Linked DNA regions of Homo sapiens: regions 1, 2, 4, 5 and 6 are each linked to region 3. Evidence: promoter capture Hi-C in 16 types of primary human blood cells and fetal thymus (Javierre and others, 2016). All regions are on one chromosome and are shown on one strand. The core of a region is centred on a gene start or on the middle of the fragment in contact, and the rest is flanking DNA. Distances in the headings are between cores, read along the strand shown.

Region 1 (4,163 bases), core at 1,425-3,924, 530 kb before region 3:
TTTTTAGTAGAGACAGGATTTCACCATGTTGGCCAGGCTGGTCGCAAACTCCTGACCTCAGGCGATCCACCCGCCTCGGCCTCCCAAAGTGCTCGGATTACAGGCATGAGCCACCGCAACTAGCCCCATTATTGTTAATGTTAACTTTGATTATTTGGTTAAGTTCGTATACTCCAGGTTTTCCCCCCATTTTCCAATTAATAAATAATCTTTGGGGAAAATGCTTTTTTTGTGTGTGTGTGTGTGTGTGTGACGGAGCCTCACTCTGTCGCCCAGGCTGGAGTGCAGTGGCAGGATCTCGGCTCACTGCAAGCTCCACCTTCCGGGTTCACGCCATTCTCCTGCCTCAGCCTCCCGAGTAGATGGGACTACAAGCGCCCGCCACCACGCCCGGCTAATTTTTTGTATTTTTAGTGGAGACGGGGTTTCACCATGTTAGCCAGGATGGTCTTCATCTCCTGACCTCGTGATCCGTCCGCCTCGGCCTCCCAAAGTGCTGGGATTACAGGCGTGAGCCACCGCGCCCGGCCAAGAGTGGAAGTTCTTAACTAAGAAAGAAAGAGCTCTCTGCAGCAGAGAGGGATCCTAAAGAAATGGGTTGTCCTGGGGGAAATTCTTTAACAATGTAAATAATTCTGTTCCTCTTAAAATTTTCACATAACAGTTCAGCATCCATGGATGAATCTTGCTTGAATTAATTATTGCTATGATGGTTTCAAAGTAGTAATTTTCTAACTCTCTTTGTCTATATTTTTTAGTTGGCATCATTTGTAAACTTTTTAATAATGACTAGGGTTAGAAATCATTTAACTCAAGATTTTCCATCCATTTTCAGCCAAAGTGAAGCAATTTTCTTTTAAAGTCTAGGCATCTGAAATCCTGAATATCTCAAGTCACTGTTTAGCACTAGTTTCTAACGTGGACTTGTTGAGGGCTTATATTTGATCCCCGACCCCCACCCACCCTCTTCCAGGACTGAGCACTGAGTGGAAATTGCTGATGGAGTAGACAGGATGGGGAGAAAGGAAACTGCAGGTTGCCAACAAGAAAGAAGGAGGGAAAAAGTGGCTGCTGGTGGAGACTGACTGCAGGGCAGGAACATCAGCCTGGGATGCAACAGGCAAAAATGACACAAGATCAGCCAGGAAACCAGGAGCACCCAAACGGGGACAGATGTCTCCTTTTACAATACCAAATGTTCATCTGTCACAGCCCCAAAGACACATCCACCTGAAAACTGCCCAAGATTTCTGGGGTATAATAGAGTTAGATGTTTCCAACATTACCTAAACATGCCTGGCTGATCCTAAGAAATTATTCTTACAAACAGATTAAAGTGACTTCAAAACTAAACACCTATAAAAGGAAGTACTAATAATGCAACATATGCCATAAATGGAATAAAAAAATAAAATAGCGCTTCACTACTTTTGTGTTCTGGAAACAAAATATTATCTGGAATACTTGTCACTGAGGAAATCATGAAATAGTTCAGTACCCAAGTACCACCACTTTATATAACAGACTGGGATCTCAAAGTTCCTCACGATTTCATGATAACTTACTGAAAACCTAGTTGAAGCTCTCGAGTTCCCCTTTTCTCCTCTGGAATCTGCCCTTAGACAGCATGCTATCTAGATATAAGAACATTTTCTATTGGCTATGTTCTTTTTTGTGAACATTATAAGTTTCCAGGCAAATATTTTAAAAATATCTCCATATTTTATATAATTTACATGCTACATTCATATAGAAGGTCTTTCTGGATTCTCTCCAGAAATGACTGGAATAGAATACTTGGATTTCGCCTGGTTTTAGAACCAATTTTTCCCTCAAGGGGAAATTTTGTGGGGGAGAAAAATGGGGGTTGAGGGAAGCACTCAGCTATAGCCCTAAGGCAATATTGTGCCCAGGTTTGATTTATCTTATCGAGGTCATGTAGTCACTGCATGGTGACAAGACAGGACTGCTAAAGAAGTGATCATCACTCTGTTCCTACCTCCCTCTCACCTGTCACTTCCTCACCTGCAGAGGTAAGGAGAAGGACAGAGGAACAGTAGTTCCTGTATCACTGGAACTTGTTAGAAATGTGAATTCTCAGGATGCACCCCAGACTTACTGAATCAGGAACTCTGGGAGTGAAGTCCAGCGATCTGTTTGAATAAGTCCTCTGAGTAACTCTGATGCATGTTAAAGTTTAAGACCTCCTTTTTAAAAATACTGATGTCAGGGTCTTTTTTAAAGCTCTCTGGAGTAATTCTAATATGCAACTAGGACTAAGAACCAGAGCTAACTAAAGAATTCTGTATCTGGGAGAAGCCCTGGGCTCTACGTTTTCAAAATCATCTCCATGCTAACAGAAGGTTGTAGGACTTCGGGCTGCAAACATGGTCAAGCTTTGCGGGAAATTTTTCAAGACACTGACTGAGAATACTTTCCTTCTCTCCCTTTTGATAGTAGGGACACATAGTAAGCCTCTCACATTAGTTTTGAATAAGAAAAAAGACAAAATAATGTTTCTCCACAGTTTGGAAACCTTTCAGATTTCTAGCTCCATCTCAGCTAAGAAAGAACATAAGATTGAGCCTAAAAAACTGGTCAAGAGCTGAGATGGTCAGATATCATCATAATTTTTTCATAAACAAAATCAATGGGCAAAAGTTTGATTCTTCAGTACAGTTGAGTATACCATATAAGGAAGTAGAAGAAACATCAATCTAAATAAATTGGTATGGAAGCATCTCAGTTTATTTTTCTAGGGTACTAAATGTATCATCTTAACCAAAACATAAGAAAGTAAATAGCAGAACAGTGTCTCACTGCATGTGTGTGATGCACAGTTGCTGGTAGATACTTTGAACCCCTTTGCCTTTGTTTTTCATTAATAACACAATAAGGCCAAATCTCATGATCTCCTTCTTTGTTGAGTCTTACTTTGTTAAGTAAAGCTTCAACCATAATTTTTTTTCTAAACACACACACACACGAATGGAATCACACTTTGTATAAATGAACAGAGCTGAGGAAAGGGAAATTTGGCCCAAATTAGCTGATTTTACTGGAAACACCTGATCAACATTTTTCTCTTTAAAAAGGAGGAAAGCATGTTGGTATCCCCACACATATCAGATGATGGCAAAACAGCAGGGAGAGGACAACCACCATTTACTGAAGGCCACCTGTGTGCCCATCGCTTGTAAGAGCTATGAATGACAGCCTTGTCCTAATTTAGAGAAACTGAGGACAGTGCCATGGTCCCACTGCTAGGGAATTCTAGAGAGATAAAATACAGGTCTGTTTGACTACAAAAACTCAAGCTCTCCACACTATCCTAAAGCTGTGTTCTTGGCTGGGATGATTGTTTACAAGAAAAATAATAAATTATTGCAGAAATTTTGACATCTCATTTTCCCATCTCTTTTCCTCCTCACCTCTCAAAAAAAAAAAAAAAAAAATACCTTCCAAAGGGCCTCTGTAGCCAGCACACCATTTGATTTTTGTTTTTTTCCTCTGTGGCCCAGACTGGAGTGCAATGGCAGGGTCATAGCTCACAGCAGCCTCGCACTCCTGGGCTCAAGTGATCCTCCCGCCTCGGCCTCCCAAAGTGCTGGGATTACAGGCCTGAGCCAGCACATCCAGCCCCATTCACTCATCTAATGAAGTCCCTAACATGCGCCACACCTGTGCTAGGGACTTTGGATGCTAGGTACGCAGGTGTGACTTGGTTTTACTCTGAACTCCCTTTGAAGCTTCACTAATACGTATCTGGCTTCAAACGCAACTAACTTAACCAGTTTTCACAGACGGGATTCCAATTTCCAAAGGCACTGAGCCATAAGAGCAGCGGTGCCAAGATGCCAAAAGCAGGCCAACCCAGCGCCTTCCAACGCTTCCATTCAGAGTTTCAACCTGATGTCTCCAGGCACTCCTCCCACCCACTGACCATGGTAACCAGATGCGGTCTCCAGCCGGCCTTGTGCTGCCCGCTGCGAATACAGCCCGTGGGCCACCGGGCAGCCGAGCCATGCAAGCCACCCTGATCCCCAAAAGGCAGACGCACAAACCCGACCCAGAACTCGAGGCGAACCTTGAACTCACAGCGCCAAAAACGCGCAGTGCCTTCGTTTGCCCGGCTCGCTGAAGGCTGGCTCTGGGCCTGGGGG
Region 2 (4,359 bases), core at 1,799-4,298, 620 kb after region 3:
TTTATGAAATCCCAATAGCAGCCAAATACATTTGATGAAAAGAACAATGTGATGCCACATTATAGACAAACATGAATCCCAGTTTAGCTTTAAGAACCGCAGCTGTTGGAAAACACCATCTCCTGGGCAGCTGCTTTGGCTACTGTCCGCAATTAATTTAGCAGAGTCTCAAAAATAGAAAGCAGCCTCTGTTCTGTTATATAATAAACAGTGCTTTATTTGAAATGACAATATTTACTTTTCCTATAGTGAACTCCAGCAGTCTACTAGGCAGTGGGCAAACAGTAGAAATACCTAAAATGGAAACTTGAGAAAGCAGTTTAGCTAGTACAGTTTATTTTCTACTTGACCAACAAGTAATTAGAAGAGCCCCTCCACGTTACTCACATTTTATCTAGTTTGTACAGGATCATGGGTTCCATGTGACTTTATGATCACCATGCACATCTTTCTTGTTTTGATGTGTCTTGAAATATGCAAGACAGATGTGAAATAATGAGGTCTCCAATATTCAAGTGTTTAAGCAGAGCTGAGGGCTGTCCCATCAAGAATGTTTTCTAAAGGATTCTACTAAGATTGGCAGGTTCAACTGCCAATTGACTTCTCAGCCTCTTCCAACAGCAAAGAGTCTGGCGTCTATGTTTCTATTATCTCATTTTCAAGTTATCTTTAAAGGGAAAATATTATAAATTATGATTATTAATTTTTTCAGTATTTAATATCTTTTATAAATGAGAAGCTGTGATTTATGTTATTTATTATAAAAACCCTTTATAAACCTTTATAAGCAAAAAATGACCTCTATTTGCAATGTAGAAAACCACTTTTTTTTTTTTTTTTTTTTTGAGACGGAGTCTCCCTCTGTCGCCCAGGCTGGAGTGCAGTGGTGTGATCTCTGCTCACAGCAACCTCTGACTCCCGGGCTCATGTGATTTTTCTGTCTCAGCCTCCCAAGTAGCTGGGACTGCAGGCACGTACCACCATGCCTGGCTAATTTTTGTGTTTTTAGTAGAGACGGGATTTCACCATTTTGGCCAGGCTGGTCTTGAACTCCAGACCTCAGGTAATCTGCCTGCCTCAGCCTCCCAAAGTGCTGGGATTACAGGCGTGAGCCACTGTGCCCAGCCTGGACAACCACTTTTAACTTCTTCATACAGTCTATTTTCTACTCCTTTTATCATATTGTGACAACTCTCCAGAGCTTCTCCATTTCTTGCAAATCTTGAGGGAGGGCAGGTCTAATTGAGTCACAGTATTCCACAGGGGTCATGTACAATGAAGAGATGTTTAAAAATTTTTGGCCTTTTAAGCTGGCATTTAGCTAGCAATACTGGATACTCTGCAGTGTTCATTGGATGATGAGATTTGCTTAATTTTTGCAACGGTGCTTGGATTTTCTTCAGAGGTTTTTCTTTCTTGTCACTCCTGATCTGGTGTCACTTCCTACTATCTCATTTAGCAAGACCAATCACTTAAAAAGGACAAATGATTTCATACCTAATTACTAGTTAGAAACATTTTAATTCCTACAAAATTCTTCAGAAACCCAAAGATTCTCCTCCCATCCTGCCAAAAATCTAATCTACAAGTCCTCTTTAGAATGGTACAAAGAAAAGTAAATTTTGATTAGGTAAAAATTTGAAGTTTAGATTTTATTCCTGCTGATTTGTTATGCTCTACTCTTAGGCAGAGTGGATGTTTATTCTCAAAGGATAGCCCACCGACCAGTTGCATCAAAATTATCTGGGGTGCGGCCAGGCACGGTGGCTCATGCCTGTAATTCCAGCACTCTGGGAGGCTGAGGTGGGTGGATCACCTGAGGTCAGAAGTTTGAGACCAGCCTGGCCAACATGGTAAAACTCCATCTCTACTAAAAATACAAAACTTAGCTGGACATGGTGGCGAGCGCCTGTAATCCCAGCTACTCTGGAGGCTGAGGCTGGCGAATTGTTGGAACCCGGGAGGCGGAGGTGGCAGTGAGCCGACATCGTGCCATTGCACTCCAGCCTGGGCAACAGAGCGAAACTCTGTCTCAAAAAAAAATTATCTGGGGTGCTTGTTAAAATGCAGATTTCATGGTCCCACTTTAAACCGAGGGAATCAGAAACTCTTGGGGCAGGGTCCTGTAAACTGTATTTTATAAATGCTTCAGGTCAATTGCATGTACATTACAGTTTGTGAAGCATTGCCCTAAAGATCAACCAAATTCTTAATTTCTAGTGTATCTTATATTTCTTCTCCTCAATAAGCCAAAGAAAGAATTGTAAGCATTAAAAGTACAGGCCAAATCTTGTCATAGAATGTGTATTCTATTGTAACTCTGTTTATGATCACTTAATAGCTTCTGTGTGGGACAGTTAAGCTGTAGTAATTACCTCATGGTTCTGTAATCTGTATGTCTCCTCCCACATGACATTTGTACCAACTAAGACTATGGCTTACTTCCAGACAGAATGGAAGAACTACCAGATCTAGGTGGGCTGATGCCACTTCATGTTACATCGTTTTTCTTGGTAATTTAAAGACATTTATCAAATTTCTCACAAATCTTGACCCTGAATTATAGAGGAGAAAAATATTTTACAAAAACTCACTAAATCCAAGTCACTTTAATCACTGACCTCTTTGCGAAAAATTGCCTTTTAAATAAATTGGGAAGGATCTGGGATTTATAGCTCTTGCCCCCAAACTGCCTCTGAATTATATTACCTTAAGCAAATTATGCGACCTCTCTGCCACGGTGTTTTGGATTTTTTTTTTTAAACAGGGTCTTGCTCTGTTGCCCAGGCTGAAGTGCAGTGGTACAATCATAGCTCGCTATAGCCTCAAACTCCTGGGCTCAAGTAATCCTCTGGCTACAGCCTCTGCAGTAACTGGGACCAGAGACACATATCACCATGCCCGGCTTTTAAAATTTTTTTGTAGAGACAGGGTCTCACTATGTTTCCCAGGCTGGTCTTGAACTCCTGGGCTCAAGTGATCCTCCCATCTCAGCCTCCTAAAGTGTTGGCATTACAGGCTTGAGTCACTGTGCCCAGCTCTTGCTATGTTTTTGTAATAGAGATAATCACTGTTTGTAATAAGGATGATATTTCCCAAAATTTTGAGATGGATGAGATCAGGCTTGTAAAATATTACATGTTCTTGAATGAGGTATGGTAAAAGAAATGAAAATTGGGCTGTGTGCAGTGGCTCACACCTATAATCCCAGAACATTGAGAGGCTGAGGTGGGTGGATCACCTGAGGTTAGGAGTTCAAGACCAGCCTGACCAATATAGTGAAACCTGGTCTCTTCTAAAAATACAAAAATTAGCTGGGCATGGTGGCAGGCACCTGTAATCCCAGCTACTTGGGAGGCTGAGGCAGGAGAATCGCTTGAACCTGGGAGGCGGAGGTTGCAGTGAGGCTGAGATCGTGTCATTGCACTCCAGCCTGGGTTACAGAGTGAGACTCCTCAAAAAAAAAAAAAAAAAAAAAGAAAGAAAAAAGAAAAAAAATTATTACTATTCCTTGTATAGGCTGTTAATGAGTTATTAACCTATCATTAATGAATCTGCCTCTTGAAGTATTTCACTTCTTGTTTTTTCAGGCTTACTAGAGTGATGCAATCTGCTCATAAATTTTCCTGGAGTATTTGGGGAACTTTAAAATTGAAAAAGCAACATAATCTCCCTCCCAAACACACATGCACACACACATATGCATGCACTTGCACTCCCTAAGACCACAGCGTGCATCTTTATCTTCACTTTCTATTGACTAGATTGATTGAACTTACTAAACCATTTGGGTCATCAAAGCCTCAAGTGCCTTGGGTTAGCTAAAGTATCACAAAGTCCACTAGCTCATTAGCAGTAAACCCTAATGTAGCAAAGTGATTAGAAATAAATTATTTACTTGATGTCATTTGGTTGTAAAAATCATCCTTCCCATTTATAGTTTCAGTTGCAATTATGCAAAACTGTTATTTTAAAATTTTGCTCATTCAAAATTAAGGATTTTTGAGAATCTGATTAGACACAAAGCAAAACCAACACCTATCTGCATATCGCCATCATTAAATTCTTTAGTAATGAGGAACCCCTAGTTGGCTCAAGAGAATGTTTAAAGATTGTTCCAATATTTTCGATTTGCAGAGTAGGAAAAAGGATTTCAAAGTATCATTGAGTCTACTTGTTTGAAACCGATTAGCATACATTGTTGTGTTATTTTTAAAGTTAATTTTATAAGCACAAGATATGTAACCTTTATGAAAAAAGAAAAAACTGGAAAAAGAATCAGAATCTGGTATATATAAACAGATAAAATGGGTTGACAAGGTCTGGGTGCGGTGACTCACAACTGTAATCCCAGCACTT
Region 3 (4,477 bases), core at 567-3,066:
TCACACCTATAATCCCAACAATTTGGGAGGCTGAGGCAGAAGGATCTCTTGGGCTCAAGAGTTTGAGACAAGCCTGGACAACTGAGGGAGACACCTCTCTCTCAAAAAAAAAAAAATCTACAAAAGTTGTGAAAACTGAATTCCTTCCTAGAGACGAGTTTTGTGGACTAGTGATTCAATGAAACGGGTGGGTGGAACTCAACCATAATGATACAAAGAACTATTTATTCTTTTATTGAAAAAAAGGGTGACTGGAGACTGGATCACACTGTGGGAACTTGCTGAGAATTTTGGAACTTCCTCTCTTTGGGTATGATAAGAAGTGAGGGAATTGAAATTCAAGTCACTTGAATTTCCCTCAGTCTTCTATAATACCTGGTTTCCAACTTGCATTCATTTAACAAACTGGAATCAATGTTCCATTATTAAATCAATATTACTTTTTAATTTTAATGTGACTTGTAGAATGCAATTTGATACTTGATTACACCCTATGATTCATAGCTATTATTGGCTATTTTGATTGTTTCTTACTCCTAATATGTCCCCTATCAAACTGCAAATGCCTTGAGGTCAAAGGTCCTTTTTTGTCTAATTAGCATAGGACTGAACACTTGGAAGATGCTAACAACATTCCTCTGTTAAATTTAATAAGGATTTTAACTTTCCAAGTTCAATGGGTTTTGAATGACTCCTGAATATAATATATTATGCTAGGTGTAGTGTAATAGAGAAAACATTTGTATTACTTGCATTTTACAAGCTGGAGGAGAAGCAAGAACACAATACCTAGGGAAGATTTAGATTTAGTAAGAAATCAGAACGTCCCAATACCCCCTTGTATATGTTTTACCAACCTAGATTTAAAAAAAAAAAAAAAAAAGCCAGAATCCCAGGCAACATAGGGAGCTAATTTGAGTTCTTTTTATAATAAATCCTATAAATCCTTGTAGTTTACTTCCTTAGGCCAGACACTCCAGATGTTTTTGTGGATAGCAGCTAGGTCTCCTGGGACCTTGGATTGGGCCTTTCTCTAGTCAGGCAAATAATCTGAAAAGAAAACGAAATCACATGTAGTCCAGCACATTTTTTCCTTTCTTGGTTTCTCCACACCAGCTAAGAGTTATTTAAAGGCTCTGAACCTCTCCAGCCTTTGATTCTTTTTAAGGATGATTTTATTTTTAGAGAACTTTCCACATTTCCTAGTTATACAGCCAGACTGGGTGATCTGGCCAGAAAATCATTTTCCCTTAAAAAAAAAAAAAAAAAAAAAAAAAAAAAAAGCTAAAATTTGAACGCAGGCGTTGAATTCGAAACAGATTTATCATAACGTAATTCCCTGGACACTCCCAACTTGAGACTGAAAGCTGGGCGAAAGCGGTTTGTGAAGCTAACCTAAAAGACAAAATGGTCTAGAGCCACCTTTTCCCCGCAAATAACAGAGGATTAAGGATCTGAAATCTTCAAGCCTCCAGGACCACGGTGCAAGCCCTCAGCAAAAATTTCTGCTGGAGGCCGGAGCGCCTTTTGATTTCGGGAGACTGGCCCAGGAACTCTAGTCACTTGGAAGGCGGAAGAGAAGGTGGTACCTGAGCCAGGTAGGAGCCACTCAGAGGCAGCCCGGGGCCGCCACTCACCTAGGAGAGGAGGTGGAGTCCGATGACCTGGACTGAGAGGAAACGCGAGACTGAGTCTACCAGGTGAGGTAAAAAACACCCACCTGCTCACCTCGGAAGGGGCGGGCGAGGTGCGGCTCCCGGTGACCCGCGGGGGTGCAGCGCACCTGGGCGGAGGCGGAACTGGGAGGGTGTGGGCACTGCTCGTAGGGCCTGGAACTAAACTCACCTGTGACGGAGGCAGAGGAGGGGCCCGGGCAAAAACCCACCTGAGCTGGCGGGAAACCCGACCCGCGAGCAGTCCCCGGGCTTGCGCGGCGCGGAGAGGGAGGCGCCCCGCGGCGGGGCCCCCACTCGGTCAGCCCGCGCGTCGGTCCCCGCGCGGCCGCCATGACCTGGAGCGCCACGGCCCGGGGCGCCCACCAGCCCGACAACACCGCCTTCACTCAGCAGCGCCTCCCCGCCTGGCAGCCGCTGCTGTCGGCCAGCATCGCGCTGCCGCTCTTCTTCTGCGCGGGCCTGGCCTTCATCGGCCTGGGCCTGGGCCTCTACTACTCCTCCAACGGCATCAAGGAGCTGGAGTACGACTATACAGGCGACCCGGGCACCGGTAACTGCTCGGTGTGCGCCGCGGCTGGCCAGGGCCGGGCGCTGCCGCCCCCCTGCTCGTGCGCCTGGTACTTCTCGCTGCCCGAGCTCTTCCAGGGCCCAGTGTACCTCTACTACGAGCTGACCAACTTCTACCAGAACAACCGGCGCTACGGCGTGTCCCGCGACGACGCGCAGCTGAGCGGACTCCCCAGCGCGCTGCGCCACCCTGTCAACGAGTGCGCCCCCTACCAGCGCAGCGCGGCCGGCCTGCCCATCGCGCCCTGCGGCGCCATCGCCAACAGCCTCTTCAACGACTCCTTCTCGCTTTGGCACCAGCGCCAGCCCGGCGGGCCCTACGTCGAGGTGCCGCTCGACCGCTCCGGCATCGCCTGGTGGACCGACTACCACGTCAAGTTCCGCAACCCGCCGCTGGTCAACGGCAGCCTGGCGTTGGCCTTCCAGGGCACGGCGCCCCCGCCCAACTGGCGCCGGCCAGTCTACGAGCTCAGCCCCGACCCCAACAACACCGGCTTCATCAATCAGGACTTCGTGGTGTGGATGCGCACGGCGGCGCTGCCCACGTTCCGCAAACTGTACGCGCGCATCCGCCAGGGCAACTACTCGGCCGGGCTGCCGCGGGGCGCCTACCGCGTCAACATCACCTACAACTACCCGGTGCGCGCGTTCGGCGGCCACAAGCTCCTCATCTTCAGCAGCATCTCGTGGATGGGTGGCAAGAACCCCTTCCTGGGCATCGCCTACCTGGTCGTCGGCTCCCTCTGCATCCTCACCGGCTTTGTCATGCTGGTCGTCTACATTCGCTACCAGGACCAGGACGACGACGACGAGGAGTGATTCCGGCTTTCCAGGGATCCCTCCTGCTTCTTGCCAAAACTCTTGCAAGGTGCTTTTGGCATCTCCTCCTCGCCCGTCACCCAATTCCAACCTCGCCTAGCTTTTCCTCCCTTTGTGAATGAGGGGACCAGATAAGGGAATTACCCCCCTTGCTCTTGGGGGGCTGCTAGACTGTCTTGCCGCGGGGAGGGATGTTGACTGCAGAGTGAAACATCCTTGCAAACTCTTCCCACCTCCTTCACGACACTGAGTTGCCATGTGAGGTTCTTCAAGTCTGAGAGTGGAAGGGATCCCTATGGAGACTCCTATTAAACCCCTATTAGAGGAAGAGATTGAGAGACCTAGCAATGTGAAGTAACAAAGATCAGGCAGCTGCAAGTGACTCCTGAATCTTGAGTCCAGGGCTTTCGCCACTACAGTACAGTGGTTTTCTTTTCTTTGGTCGGGGAGAGTGGGCTGGAATGGAGAGTGAGGCCCACAAATTACCTGCAGAGACGTGGAGGCGTGAGGGAGAACATGCTTGTTAAATATGCAGGTAGATTAGGAGACACCAAACAGAGATTCAGACACAGTAAGGCTGGGATGAGATCCTCGAAGCTGTGTTTTAACAAACTCCACTGGAGAGTCCCATATTCCCTCAAATTTGGGAATCACGACCCTGAACCAGGTTGGGCCTGAAGCAGTCAACTGAATTCACTTTTTCGGATAGTAATTTGTTCCCAGGGGCAGTGACAACCATGATGTTCCAGGTTTGGTCTGGCACTCTGCCTTGAACGTAGGAAGCTCTTGATGATTTGTGGAATGAATTTTTAAAAAATTACTATCTGGGGAAAACTAGTTGGCATACAGAGTTGTAGGACAGGGTTTATGTGATTCATTTGATATTTTAGTATTTTGGTGTAAAAGCCAACAGGCAAACTTTGCCAGGTACTGTGTAGAAACTCGAAAATGTGAGGCCAGTTTGTACAGTTCAGAGGAAATGCTTTAACGTAGAATCAGATAGCTGGAAGAGATCTTCGAGGGAAAGTAAGTTCCCTAAAGTCACATCTATGTCTCCTAGCTCAGTGTTCTTTGTCATTGTGTGTGTGTGTGTGTGTGTGTGTGTGTGTGTGTGTGATTAGAAAGGGCTTCATTCATACCTTTTCCCTTGGACCTGGAAAAAAAATTTTTTTTATCTTTTCAAATGAAATCTATTGATTTCTAGTAATCATATTTGAATCAATGTTAAAGCATATATAGTCTTATATGTAAACTAGATTCTTAAGATTATTTGAACCTTTGAGATGAAGTTTACACTCAACTAAAATCATTCCATTGATTTTATTGATTAACATCAATCAGTATGTTTAAAGTTATTCTAAGAAGCAATAGTTTATTTTTAAAAACCTTGTATAGCAAAATAACTTAAAACCCTT
Region 4 (4,102 bases), core at 705-3,204, 510 kb before region 3:
ACTCTGTTGCCCAGGCTGGAGTGCAGTGGCACGATCTCGGCTCACTGGGTTCACACCATTCTCCTGCCTCAGCTTCCCGAGTAGCTGGGATTACAGGCGCCCGCCACCACGCCTGGCTAATTTTTCGTATTTTTATTAGAGACGGGGTTTCACTGTGTTAGTCACGATGGTCTCGATCTCCTGACCTCGTGATCCGCCCACCTCGGCCTCCCAAAATGCTGGGATTACAGGCATGCAACCCAAACTTTAAATCCCTTAATAATACCATGCTGGAAAACAGCATGAAGTATAATCAACTGTGAAACAGGTTAAGGCTGGGTACAGTAGCTCACACCTATAATCCCAGTACTTTGGGAGGCTGAGGCAGGAGGATAGCTTGAGCCCAGGAGTTCAAGACCAGCCTGAGCAACATAGCGATACTCCATCTCTATTAGGGAAAAAAAAAAAACAGTTGAGCCAACAACATGATAGGGATATGGTCTGCTATTGGCAGCAATTCAAACAACATGGCTCAAGCAATCTCTATTAAAATGTCTGGAACAAGAAATTAACAGAGTGGCATATTCATGAAGCTACAGATTTTTTTTTTTCTGTTAATATCAACTATTCTGTACCAGAGACACATTCTGAAATTTACATTATTATTGTTAAAGATTTTATTAGAAAGTACTTAAATACTTAATACATTAGTATTTAAGTACTTGTTAGTACTTAATTAGTATTTAGTAATAATAAACAAGCACTAAAGAATATTTAATTGCAGAAGTAGAAAATACATTGTGAACTTCCTAAGTTATCAATCACGTTATGAGAATGTAAGTTTTATGTATTAAAAAATAAAGCAAGGCAAAAACTTTATTGCACTTAACAATATACAAAATAGAATAAATATACAAAATAAAAAATCCATTATCCGACTGTAGATACAAAATAGTTATTTGCATGTAATAAACATTAATATTTCAATAAAAAATATTTTAAATAAAATAGAATAGTATTACCAGACTGTATTAGGACAGTATAGTATCACAAAACCTTATAGGAAATAGTAACAATCTGCGAATAACAGAATTTTTTCTATTACATACTAAATACAAGTTTTATCTCCATTTATGCAAATCATTAAAGAAAATGTTAAAGAATTCTTATTCTAATTTTTTGTACTTTTATTCTAGAACTACGTATTGCAATTTCCAAGAAATAACCTACAGATTCCCAGAAGGATTTTTTTAATACTGGCAGTCTTCCTGTTCAATACACAAAATATCAATCTTTTCTTCTGTCAGAAAACTCAAAATTAAAAACTACACCAGGCTCTTTGTTCAGTGTTTTCTCCTCTTCTTGGATGCAGTGAACTCTAAAGACATAAAGTTTAAAAGTCAGTCAGATCTAAAAACAAAAAAAAAACAAACAAAAAAAACAACTGACACTTACATGATAATACCTAATTGATAATACACATTTCAACTACATAGACGTCTAACTGGTACAACACAATAAGAATGCCCTCACAGCAAAGACACAACAAAAAAATCTTAAACCTGACATATTCAAGAATTTTTTCTTCAAAATGATACAGCAGTTTAAAACATACTATCGGCCAGGTGCAGTGGCTCACGCCTATAATCCCAGCACTCTGGGAGGCTAAGGTGGGCGAATCATGAGGTCAGGGGATCGAGACCATCCTGGCTAACATGGTGAAACCCCATCTCTACTAAAATAAATACAAAAAATTAGCCGGGCGTGGTGGTACATGTCTATAGTACCAGCTACTCAGGAGGCTGAAGCAGGAGAATTGCTTGAACCCAGGAGGTGGAGGTTGCAGTGAGCCAAGATCGTGCCACTGCACTCCAGCCTGGACGACAGAGCGAGACTCCATCTCAAAACAAACAAACAAACAAAAAAAACACATAACAACAAAAAATACTACCTCCATTAAGGTAGTAAGATCTCAATCCTATTGCAATATCAATCTATTGAGATAGTGGCCCTTAGTCATTCTAAATCCTAATTAATAATAAGTTACTGTGAAGTTGTTTCATATGGGTACACCCTCCCTATAATTATATGAACCCAGGGTACTAGATCTCAAAGGTATTTAGGCCAGTACTAAGAAGAAGAAAATGACTAAGATTTCAATTTCATTTCAATTAAACCTAGAAATGTAACCCAAAACACCAGTACCACACATCATTCTGGCTACCACAGGAGATGCCAGAACCAACACTCGAATAATTGTCCATCTAGAAACAGCACGAACCTAAAGTTTACTGATCATTAAAAGCAAAGAAAGTAATAGAAAACACAAAAACATGAAAATTACAAAAGATGTGGCAAAAAGAAATATTCCGGCCGGGTGCAGTGGCTCCCACCTGTAATCCCAGCACTTTGGGAAGCCAAGGCAAGCGGATCACTTAAGGTCAGGAGTTCAAGACCAGCCTGCCCAACACGGTGAAACCCCATCTCTACAAAAATACAAAAATGAGCCGGGCATGATGGTGAGTGCCTGTAATCCCAGCTACTTGGGAGGCTGAGGCAGGAGAATCGCGTGAACCTGGGAGATGGTGTTTGCAGTGAGCTGAGATCACGCCATTGCACTCCAGCCTGGGTGACAGAGCAAGACTCTGTCTCAAAAAAAAAAAAAGAAAAAAAGAAAAGAAAAAAAAATATTCCCCACCAGTGAAAAACAAAAGGGAAATGGCAGAAAAAGAAAAAGAGAAAAGACAAGTAAAAAAAACAAATTAAGATGAAAACAAATTCCTAGGCCAGGCACGGTGGCTCATGCCTGTAATCCCAGTACTTTGGAAGGCTGAGGCAAGTGGATCACTTGAGCCCAGGAGTTTGAGACCAGCCTAGGCAACACAGTGAGACCCTGTCTCTACAAAAAATACAAAAATTAGCCAGGCATGGTGGCATGTGCCTTCAGTCCCAGTGACTCAAGAGGCTGAGGCGGGAGGGGAGGATAGCCTGAGCCGGGGAGGTCGAAGCTGTAGTAAGTCACTGTGATCAAGTCACCGCACTCCAGCCTGGGCAACCCAGCAAGACCCTGTCTCATGAAAAAAAAATAAAGAAAACAAATTCCTGGAAGAGAGCAGCAGTCAGGATTAGAAGTACTGGAACACTGTCCAGATGAAAGCAGGTCAGAGGTCTGACAGAGACATCTCTACAAAGATGAAACTGATAGGATACCTAATGGGTATCCATACCATTCATTTATTGTATTATCCCTGACTTTGAGATGTCATTAATGATATGACTAATACTGAAATTCTCCAATGGGTCAAAGATGAAAGGATCACAAGAACACACAGCAAACTGTCATGTTCCTCAAGGGTTCTAAACCTTGATGCTCTACGAGTATAAGTTAGTTTACTTGACTAGTTTGACCAAATTTTATCTGTACCTGTTCCACTCAAACTTTCATTCTCTTCTTCTTCTGTAATTACAGGCATACTCAGACTTAAAGGTTTATCTTCCTTGTGTATATTCTGCACATTGCCTAGAAATATTTAGAAAATGATTTTATATGAAAGCAAAGAATATTATAATCTTTGAGAAAACATTTTACAAAAACTGTCATTATTACAGCATAAAAATTAGACATGTAAAAACTGAAACTGTAATGGTAACAGAAATACGCATTCTAGAATACCTATATTTTTTCAAATACTAACATATTTGTATTTATACTTTGAAAATAGTCTCTAGTTCTTCCACTAGAGAAAACAGAGAAAAAAGGAATAAACAAAATTAGCCAAACACAAATACCATATTTAATCTTTACCACACATGACAGGGGTTATATCTGCAGCCATCAAAGAATAATCACATATGTTACTTCAACTTTATTAAATTAATTACAAATGTAATTTTTGAGTTTAACAGCCTTACTTTTGGATGTGAACATACTTTCTTTTCTCACCACATATGCTCTACAAGATATATTCCTCTAGTCATAATTTGCGATTGACTTTCCATTTTCAAAAACACTAGAGGTTCTCTACATCAACCTTCTGTTACCTGAAGAAGTATCCCAACCAAATTTATCAGATACCATTGTCATATCAAGTACCATTTAGCACACAATTTCCATGTCCCAAAA
Region 5 (3,976 bases), core at 164-2,663, 550 kb after region 3:
TGCATTCTTCTTGATTACTTTTACCTTACTTCTAATCTTAAATCATTCAATCACAGCTCTACTATACTTCTTTGCAGAGTAAAGCAAAGGAAAATAAAGATCAATTAGAAAAGTTAAGTAAGCTAATAAATTCCATATAATAATTATAGCTACAGCTAATCATGCAATTTATGCTTACCTAAAGACCCTGTCATTGCTCTACATTTTTGTCAGCACTTGGGGGGTTGGGAGGAGACCTTGTCTACACACTGTAGATTATCCATTATTTTTTGCCTCCAATAAACCTGAAAGAAACTACAGGAATATATGCTCGCCATTACATGGCACCTTTTTATCTCAAAGTGCTTTCTAGAACCACCTTCACTAAACCACATCTGACAAGAAATCTGGCAAGAAACACTTTGACCAATCCCTGTTTCAAAATACACAAACTCAACCTCCCTCCTTCTGCCCCCTTCCCCTGAAAATGGGCGTTCTAAAGTCAGACTTCCTGGGTTCCAATTCTCTCAAGGCCCACTTAATAAGGGACCTTGAGCAGTCTCGATTTCCTTCCCTGTGAAATGGAAATACCAGTATCTACTTCATGGGACTGTTGTAGGAATGAACTGAGATAATTCATGGTAAGGCGCTTAGAACACTGTCTGGCACAAAATGTGCACTCAAATGCCAGCCATTATTATATCTTCAAAATTAACTACCTACAGTCCGGGTTTTCTTCATTTTAGTGATGGGAGTCTAACCGAACTCCATCAGGACAAGTGGGCATACACACAGGGTTTTTTAATTAACTCATACAATAAATAGCAGCAGTATATACTCAAGCAAATTTTAAGTTTTCATAGCACTTTCGCACTTTTTCAATAAAAACATTTCATATGAAATAAACACTCCAATCCCCCACGCTTTTAATCAGCGATGTCCAGAGCCCAGTAAACAACACAAAGCCTGGAAATACAGTCGGGATACTCATTGGCTATGGAAGGGGGAACCTGACAAACTGCTGGATGCCACACTGAGAACCCGCAGTTCAAAGCAGGCCAGAGCCGCTCGGGGCTAGCGGCTACAGTCTATTTAAAGTCACAACGCCTTCTTTTCCCATTTTCCTCCCCAGTGTTGAAACTAACAACGCCCTTTGCTCCCAAGACGAGGCCTAGCATCTCCCGGTCCTCTCCTCCCACCCAGCGCGTCTCTCCCCCAGGGAATCCACTGCCGCCCAACTCACAGAGTGTGTCCGCACACATTCACCATCAGCTTCAAGGAGGGGTTCCGATATTTGGTGGTCTTACACCGAGGGCAACCCTGATCGTCCATGGCGGTTTCCCTCCTACAGACTCTCGCAGGCGCCTGTTTCAGCCAGAGCCACCTACAAGCCCCCTCAGACGCGACCAAGCAGGTTCCTACCAACAGGCGCTTGGCAGAGACGGTCCCTTCGCGAAAGAGCACCGGCAAGGGGCGAGGCGCTGCAACACAAACGTTCCGGCAGTCAGTTCCCCCGGTCTTGCATCTAGGGCTTGGTCTTAGCCTTCCATAAAGCAACTTAATACCTTGAATTTGACAGGGGAACTTTTAAAATGGCAAATTATACAAAGCCTTATCTCCACGCACCCAGTTGCATTTTTCAAGGTACTGTGTCACAATTAGGAAGATAAATTCCATCTTGTTCTGTCTGGAAACATTCCCATGATTTCAAAGATTTATGAGCGGTGTACTTACTTTCTTTTGGACCATTTAATAGCCTGTGCTTTATACTTCTTTATAATTGCATAGTCATGTCAGCTCAGCTGATAATATGCATTCGCAGATACAAAATATGAAAAAGCTATCTACTCCATCAGACAGTATTTATTTCCCCAAATACCTAGGAAAAAATCATATAAGAATACATACAGAAAAATTTAGTTCTGCAATTCCAAGATCTGATAGCCTGAATATCTTTGTAAATTGTAAACCATGTTCATCACATTTATCAAGAAGGCAAATTGAAGTCTGTAAACAGCTCTATTAAATAATAAGCTTTCCCACTGTAAAGGACACATCTTATTCATCTCCAAAATAAAGATTTGTTGATTCTTAATGAGTAAGTAGACTAAGTGAAGAATTAATGAATGACTATCAAACAATAGTGTAATGTGAAAATTTTTAGTGTCAAACATTTTTTGTAACCACCTTCATCTGACCCAAACTCCATCAGAAGGGAACATGCAAACTAGATTTTTCAAATAATCTGATACAATGAGTATAAGCTATAAACATTTATAGTAATTTTAACTCATCATAGAACTTGTGTTCTTTTCAATAAAAAGTAATATTCAATTCACATTTTTAAACAGTGAACCTGGTAGGGAACCCAAAACCCAAAAATACAGTTGGGATTTCCATGGGTATAGAGAGGGATGCTGACAAACAGCTGGATACCACACCCAGGAACCAGCAGATCAAAGCAGGCTGTGACAGAGCTTTACATTAGTATGAAGACATCAAGGATTCATCTAATAAATAAACCATATCATCTCTTTGATCATAATATTGTTCCTCAACAGGAGTTAACCAAACATAAACTTACTAAAATAGGTAACACCAAATACTATGCTACTATGCTGACCCGGAGGCTTATTATGCTGCTGCTATTGTCTTATTGAAAGACCACATCCAGACCAGTTACATGATTCAGAGTGAAGCTCTTCAAGAACAAAGGCAACTCTAGTACTTTATATTTTGGACCATTTAATAGCCTGTGCTTTATACTTCTTTATAACTGCATAGTCATGTAAGCTCAGCTGATAACATACAAGAAACTTCTGGTGAAAGAATGAATATGTCATATGTGCAAATAAAATTTTTAGCCAATACTACATTGAGGTCATCCACTCAGATGGCATTATAGTTTATTGCCACTAGGACAATTTTTGTGTGTTTGTTTGTTTGTTTTGAAACAGGATCTCCTTCTGTTGCCCAGGCTAGAGTGCAGTGGCCCGATCACAATTCATTGCAGCCTTGAACTCCTGGGCTCAAGTCATCCTCCCACCTCAGCCTTCTAAGTAGCTGGGACCTCAGGCACTAGCCACCAGTCCCAGCTAATTTTTTATTTTATTTTTTTAAGAAATGGGATCTCACTATGTTGCCCAGGCTGGTCTTGAATTCCTGGGCTCAAGCAGTCCTCCTACCTCAGGCTCCCAAAGTGCTGGGATTACAGGCATGAGCCTGTAATGATGCCCAGCTATCCAGGACAGTTTTAATTACGTCTTTGAAGATGAGACCCCAACCACGTTGCGAAGTGAATTGCTTTTCCTTTCTCCCAAAACTTAAGATTAAGGCAAAGAAAGCACTAAAGATTGTGAGAAGCAGCAATGCTACAAGCTTTATCCTTTTCCTAGGTGGGAAACTACTAACTTGGAAGCATGGTAGCAACAGCTGACTTGGAAATCTGTCAGATAAGCTTTACTTATGGACCTAAAGACAGTAGAAAATAGCACTTATAGATTTGGTCTCTAGTACCAAGAGAGCTGAATTCAAGTGCTGGCTTCATCACATGATTTATATGACCTTGAGCCTCAGTTTTCCCAATTCTAAGTTCAGGATAGTACTTGTAAAGAATAAAAGATACTTCATTTAAAACACCTAGCATAGAGTAAGAGCTTAGTAACTGCTGGCCATTATTAATGGTAGCATTAGGATACTGGCAGTAGTATTATCTAAAAGAGGCGGGACAATATAATAATAAGAGCCCAACCTTCTTTTACATCAGTCAGACCTGTGTTTGAAGCAAATTTCCAATCCTCCCGTTCCTGTTTCCTTCTTGCATATAATACACTTCATAAAATTGCTGTAATGATTAAATTACATGACATAGACATACATAAAGGCCCTAATACAATGCCTCATACATTACAGAAGCTCTGAAATGTACATCATTATCACTGGTGGGGATGAATAACATGGAATGGTCAGAGAGCTTTGAGGAGGAAAGCACTGACGG
Region 6 (4,148 bases), core at 591-3,090, 580 kb before region 3:
TAACGTACAAACAAGAAAATCCAGGAAGAATTTATTCACAGAAAATGATGAGTTAATTCTAAAATTGACATGGAAATAAAATGACCTAGATTACCCAAAACAGGATTGAAAAAATGAAAAAGAAAAAGATTTACACTACCTGATTTCAACACTTATTATATATAAAGCTACAGTAATCAAAGCAGTATGATATTAGCATAAAGATAGACACATAGAACAATGAAAGAGAAGAGAGACTCCAGAAATAATCTCAAACATATATAAATACTTTTCAGGAAAAATGCCTAGATAATGCAACCGGGAAAGGATAATCTCAACAAGTGCTATTAAAATAATTACATGTGCATATGAAAAAAAAAATGAGCCTAGACCCTTAGCTCACAACATAAGCAAAAATATAAAATGCATCACAGATCTAAATGTAACATCTAAAACTATAAAACTTCTAGGAAAAAACATTGGAGAAAATTCTTTTGACTTTGGATTAGGCAAAGATTTCTTCTGTAGAACACAGAAGGCACTAAATATAAAAGAAAAAATAATTGGATTTTATCAAAATTTAAAATTTTTACTCTTTAAAGCATGCTGTTAGAAAAACTAAAAGGCAAGCCACAGACTACAGGAGAGTATTTGCAAAATACATATCTGACAAAGAACTTGTATGCACACTAAAGAACCCTCATAATGCAATAATAAGACAAACATAATTTTTAAATGAACAAAAGATTTGAACACATATATTACCAAAGAATAGGTATAGATGGCAAATAAGCATATGAGAAGATGGTCAACATCATTAGTCATTGGAAAAATGCAAATTAAAACCAACATGAGATACCTTGTTATAACCATGAGAATGACAAAAATAAAAATAAATTGATGATATCAAGTATAATAGAAGATGTAAAGCAACTGGAAATGTCATACATTGCTAGGGAGAATACAAAATGGTACAGCCACTATGGAAAACATTTTGGCAATTATTTTTTCCTTTCTCCCCCACCCTCCTCTTCCTTTTTTGGCAATTTTTTGTAGAGCTAAATGTGTACCCATCTACCATATAACCCAGCCCCAGCAAGTCAACTCCTAGGTATTTACCCAAGAAAAATTAAAGCATGTATCCACACAAATACTTATACACGAGTATTCATAATAGTTTTTTTTTTCAGACTACAAAGGTGGTTTCCTTTATTTTGGTAAACTTTAAAGATCTCATTTTGATACTAATTCAAAATGCCAAATAGAATGACCCACTTTCTGAATAATTAAAACAACTTACATTTTAAACATGTATTTCTGTAGGATGTATTCTATCATCTGAAATATTAATAAGATCCAATAATTTCTTAAGTAAACAGTAAACTGATCCTAAGTATATAATCTGTGATCAATTTCGTAAGACTAAGTTTACTGCACCTTAATTCCAGATATAAAATGATTTAGAAAGCATTTTGACTGGGGGAGGTGGAAAATAAGGACAGGTAAATGATCTGCAGCTTAAATACAAAATCCTGTCACATTACATCTCACATGTTCAAGACACCCTCCATGTGCTGAAAAAAAATGATGATTCCCAGAAACAGTATAATCCATTAATAAGTCACCCAATATATAACAATTTTTAAAACTCTTTATAAAAAAGGAGTCCATGTATTCACAGATACTGTAGAATCTCCAGCTCCTATGTATATTACTGAAAAATGCAAATAAATATATCTTTGCGGTATTACGGCAATCCACATCTTTCCCATCAGACTATACCAGTCACCTTAGTACTGTGGAAATGTTCCACCGTTTTGGGCAGCCCAGGCCATGAGGTCCCCCACAATATTCCAAACTGTTAAATAGTCTAACTCTTGAGCTGCTGATGAGGCCTGGAGGATCTTCACGGCTTTCTGTGATTCATTTCCCAGTTTGTAAATCACATAAATGAGGAGAGCAGCCCCTTCTTGTGTGCCCTGTTTCCCTTTCCGGACTGCTTCTCCTAAGAGCTTCAGGCTCTCCGCATCCCTGCGTTCAGAGGGATGTGTAGGGCATGAGGCAAAAGACAGATGCTCACCTCCATCTTAGGCCTGATGTCCAGCAACAGATGGGGTGCCCCAGAATCCAGAAGTCGCTTATAGTCAGTGACAGAAACACGATCCTCTGGGCCCAGTAACTGCAGGGAGCGGCATTTATCGGTGGCTGAGGAGCCACAGAAGGCTTCATAGTCCAGCAGATGAGTCACAGTGGGCCATTTCCCGCAAGCTGCACAGTCGAGCCTGCAGCTCCGCAGCCGAATACAGCAGAAATGCCCTCTCAGGGCATCAAAGAGCAACAGGCTGCCACTGTAAGAGGGGCCCAGACTCGCAGCAATTTTCAGCACTTTCAAGGCCTGCAGGCAGCCCAGGACCCCGGTTAAGACACGGAGCATCCCGCCATCCGCGCAGTTGGTCACTGTCTCCGCCGGGGGTGGCTGGGAGAATATGCAGCGATAGCAAGGCCCACCGTCATAATGGTAGACTGTGATTTAGCCCTCCAGGCGCTGGCAGACACTAGGGCCCAACCGGCCAGCCACATGCGTCATTAACCAGGTAGCGAGTGGACACGTTGTCCGAGCAGTCGCCACCACATCATATCGGCGGAGCGGGTCTAGGGTAGGGACCGGCATAAAAGGGCCTGAGAGTACCGCACTCATTCCACCGCCAAATTGAGGCCGCGCAGCGAGGCGGCGGCCGAAGCGGCCTTGGCCTGTGCAGCCAGTGCCTCGCCATGCAGCACTTGGTAGGCCAGGTTGCTCATCTCTACCACATCATAATCCACAAGGCCAAGGCGGCCCACGCTGGCCGCTGCCAAGTACTGCGCCAGTGGACAGCGGAGCCCACCGCAGCCCACGACTAGCACGTGTCTGTGCACGCCCAGCTCGGGCAGCACTAACTGCCGGCTAGAGCGCAGAATCTCATCTTGGAACACAGCGGCCTTCCGCGGCAGCTGCAACACCGAAACCAGTCGTTCTGGCTGCGGTTCCTGCTCCGCCAAAAGGGCCGCTGCCAGCTTCTGCTTCAGGGAATTCAATTCCTCCTCACGTTGGACAACGTCAGCCTGTAAGGGGAGTACCTCCTCCTGGGTCGTAATAGTTTTATTCATAATAGTGGAAAATTTGAAACAACCCCAAGTCTACCAATTGGTGAATGGATAAACAAATTGTGGTCTATTCATACAAAAGTATATTCCTCCACATAAAACAGAACAAATTACCAGAATAGTCCATGCAGTATTGAAGAAGAACAAAGTTGGAGGACTGATACTACCCAACTTCAAGACGTGCTATAAAACTACAGACAATGTAGCATTGGTGAAAGAATAAATCGATCAATAGAATAAAACAGAGGGCCAAGAATTAGACCCACATACATACAGTCAACTGATTTTTGACAAAGGAGCAAAGGCAATACAATGGAGCAAAGATAATCTTTTCCACGACTGGTGCTGGAACAACTGGGCATTGATATGCAAAAAAAAAATGAATCTAGACAGACATTTCACCCTTCACAAAAATTAACTCAAAATGGATCACAGCCTTAAATGTAAAACACTAAACTACAAAACCCCTAGAAGATAACATAGGAGAAAATCTGGATGATCTGGATTTGGTGATGATTTTTTACATGCGGCAGCAAAGGCACAATCCACAAAAGAAAGAATTGATAAGTTGGACTTTATTAAAATTAAATCTTTCCGCTCTGTGAAAGAGAAAGTCAAGTGAATGAGAACATATGCCACAGACTGGAATAAGATATTTGCAAAACACTATCTGATAAAGAACTGTTATCCAAAATATACAAAGAACTCTTAAAATTCAACAGTAAGAACACAAACAACCTGATTGAAAAATGGGCCAAAGAGCTTTACAAACACCTCACCAAAGAAGATGCGCAGATGGCAAATAAACATGTAAAAAGATGTTCCAGATTATATGTTGTCAGGGAAAGGTAAATTAAAACAATGAGATACCATGTATAAGAATAGCCAAAATCCAGAACACTGGCAACACCAAATGCTGGAGAGGTTGCGGAACAACAGGAACTCTCATTCACTGCTGGTGGGAATGCAAAATGGTACAACCACTTTGGAAGACGGTTTGGAAGTTTCTTAACAAACTAAACACA

What was found. Contacts are between HindIII fragments. The CHiCAGO score rates a contact against its expected background, and 5 or more counts as called.
Region 1: a contact is called between a fragment that was not itself captured here and the fragment with the promoter of TMEM30B in region 3, in 9 of 17 cell types (activated CD4 T cells, fetal thymus, total CD4 T cells and 6 more). The highest score is 10.7, in activated CD4 T cells.
Region 2: a contact is called between a fragment that was not itself captured here and the fragment with the promoter of TMEM30B in region 3, in 3 of 17 cell types (M1 macrophages, M0 macrophages and M2 macrophages). The highest score is 5.8, in M1 macrophages.
Region 4: a contact is called between a fragment that was not itself captured here and the fragment with the promoter of TMEM30B in region 3, in 6 of 17 cell types (naive CD4 T cells, activated CD4 T cells, naive CD8 T cells and 3 more). The highest score is 9.2, in naive CD4 T cells.
Region 5: the fragment with the promoter of MNAT1 here is called in contact with the fragment with the promoter of TMEM30B in region 3 in 1 of 17 cell types (M2 macrophages); the score reaches 6.6 in M2 macrophages.
Region 6: a contact is called between a fragment that was not itself captured here and the fragment with the promoter of TMEM30B in region 3, in 2 of 17 cell types (activated CD4 T cells and monocytes). The highest score is 7.3, in activated CD4 T cells.

Annotation. Positions count from the first base shown.
Region 1 is chr14:61,813,097-61,817,259 of GRCh38, reverse strand. The region is part of intron 1 of SYT16 (synaptotagmin 16); the gene reads right to left. Among named protein-coding and RNA genes, the nearest start is that of SYT16, 2.5 kb to the right of the region's middle. The HindIII fragment of the contact is 552 bases long and covers 2,399-2,950 here.
Region 2 is chr14:60,661,202-60,665,560 of GRCh38, reverse strand. No RefSeq gene overlaps it. Among named protein-coding and RNA genes, the nearest start is that of SIX1, 14 kb to the right of the region's middle. The HindIII fragment of the contact is 7,553 bases long and covers 1-4,359 here.
Region 3 is chr14:61,278,677-61,283,153 of GRCh38, reverse strand. TMEM30B (transmembrane protein 30B) reads left to right here and starts at 1,816. Exons shown (of 1, transcript NM_001017970.3): 1 at 1,816-4,477. The coding sequence starts at 2,007. The coding sequence ends at 3,062. It also overlaps a transcript of PRKCH not described here. RefSeq lists an enhancer at 2,391-3,354. The HindIII fragment of the contact is 12,699 bases long and covers 1-4,477 here.
Region 4 is chr14:61,792,204-61,796,305 of GRCh38, reverse strand. It overlaps SNAPC1 (small nuclear RNA activating complex polypeptide 1), which reads right to left. Exons shown (of 10, transcript NM_003082.4): 9 at 3,404-3,499; 10 at 1-1,357. The coding sequence ends at 1,323. Among named protein-coding and RNA genes, the nearest start is that of SYT16, 18 kb to the left of the region's middle. The HindIII fragment of the contact is 8,237 bases long and covers 1-4,102 here.
Region 5 is chr14:60,732,198-60,736,173 of GRCh38, reverse strand. It overlaps MNAT1 (MNAT1 component of CDK activating kinase), which reads right to left and starts at 1,413. Exons shown (of 8, transcript NM_002431.4): 1 at 1,223-1,413. The coding sequence starts at 1,311. RefSeq lists enhancers at 1,120-1,189, 1,300-1,399. The HindIII fragment of the contact is 2,495 bases long and covers 1-2,015 here.
Region 6 is chr14:61,863,170-61,867,317 of GRCh38, reverse strand. The region is part of intron 1 of SYT16 (synaptotagmin 16); the gene reads right to left. It also overlaps the pseudogene MOCS3P1. Among named protein-coding and RNA genes, the nearest start is that of SYT16, 53 kb to the right of the region's middle. The HindIII fragment of the contact is 8,411 bases long and covers 1-4,148 here.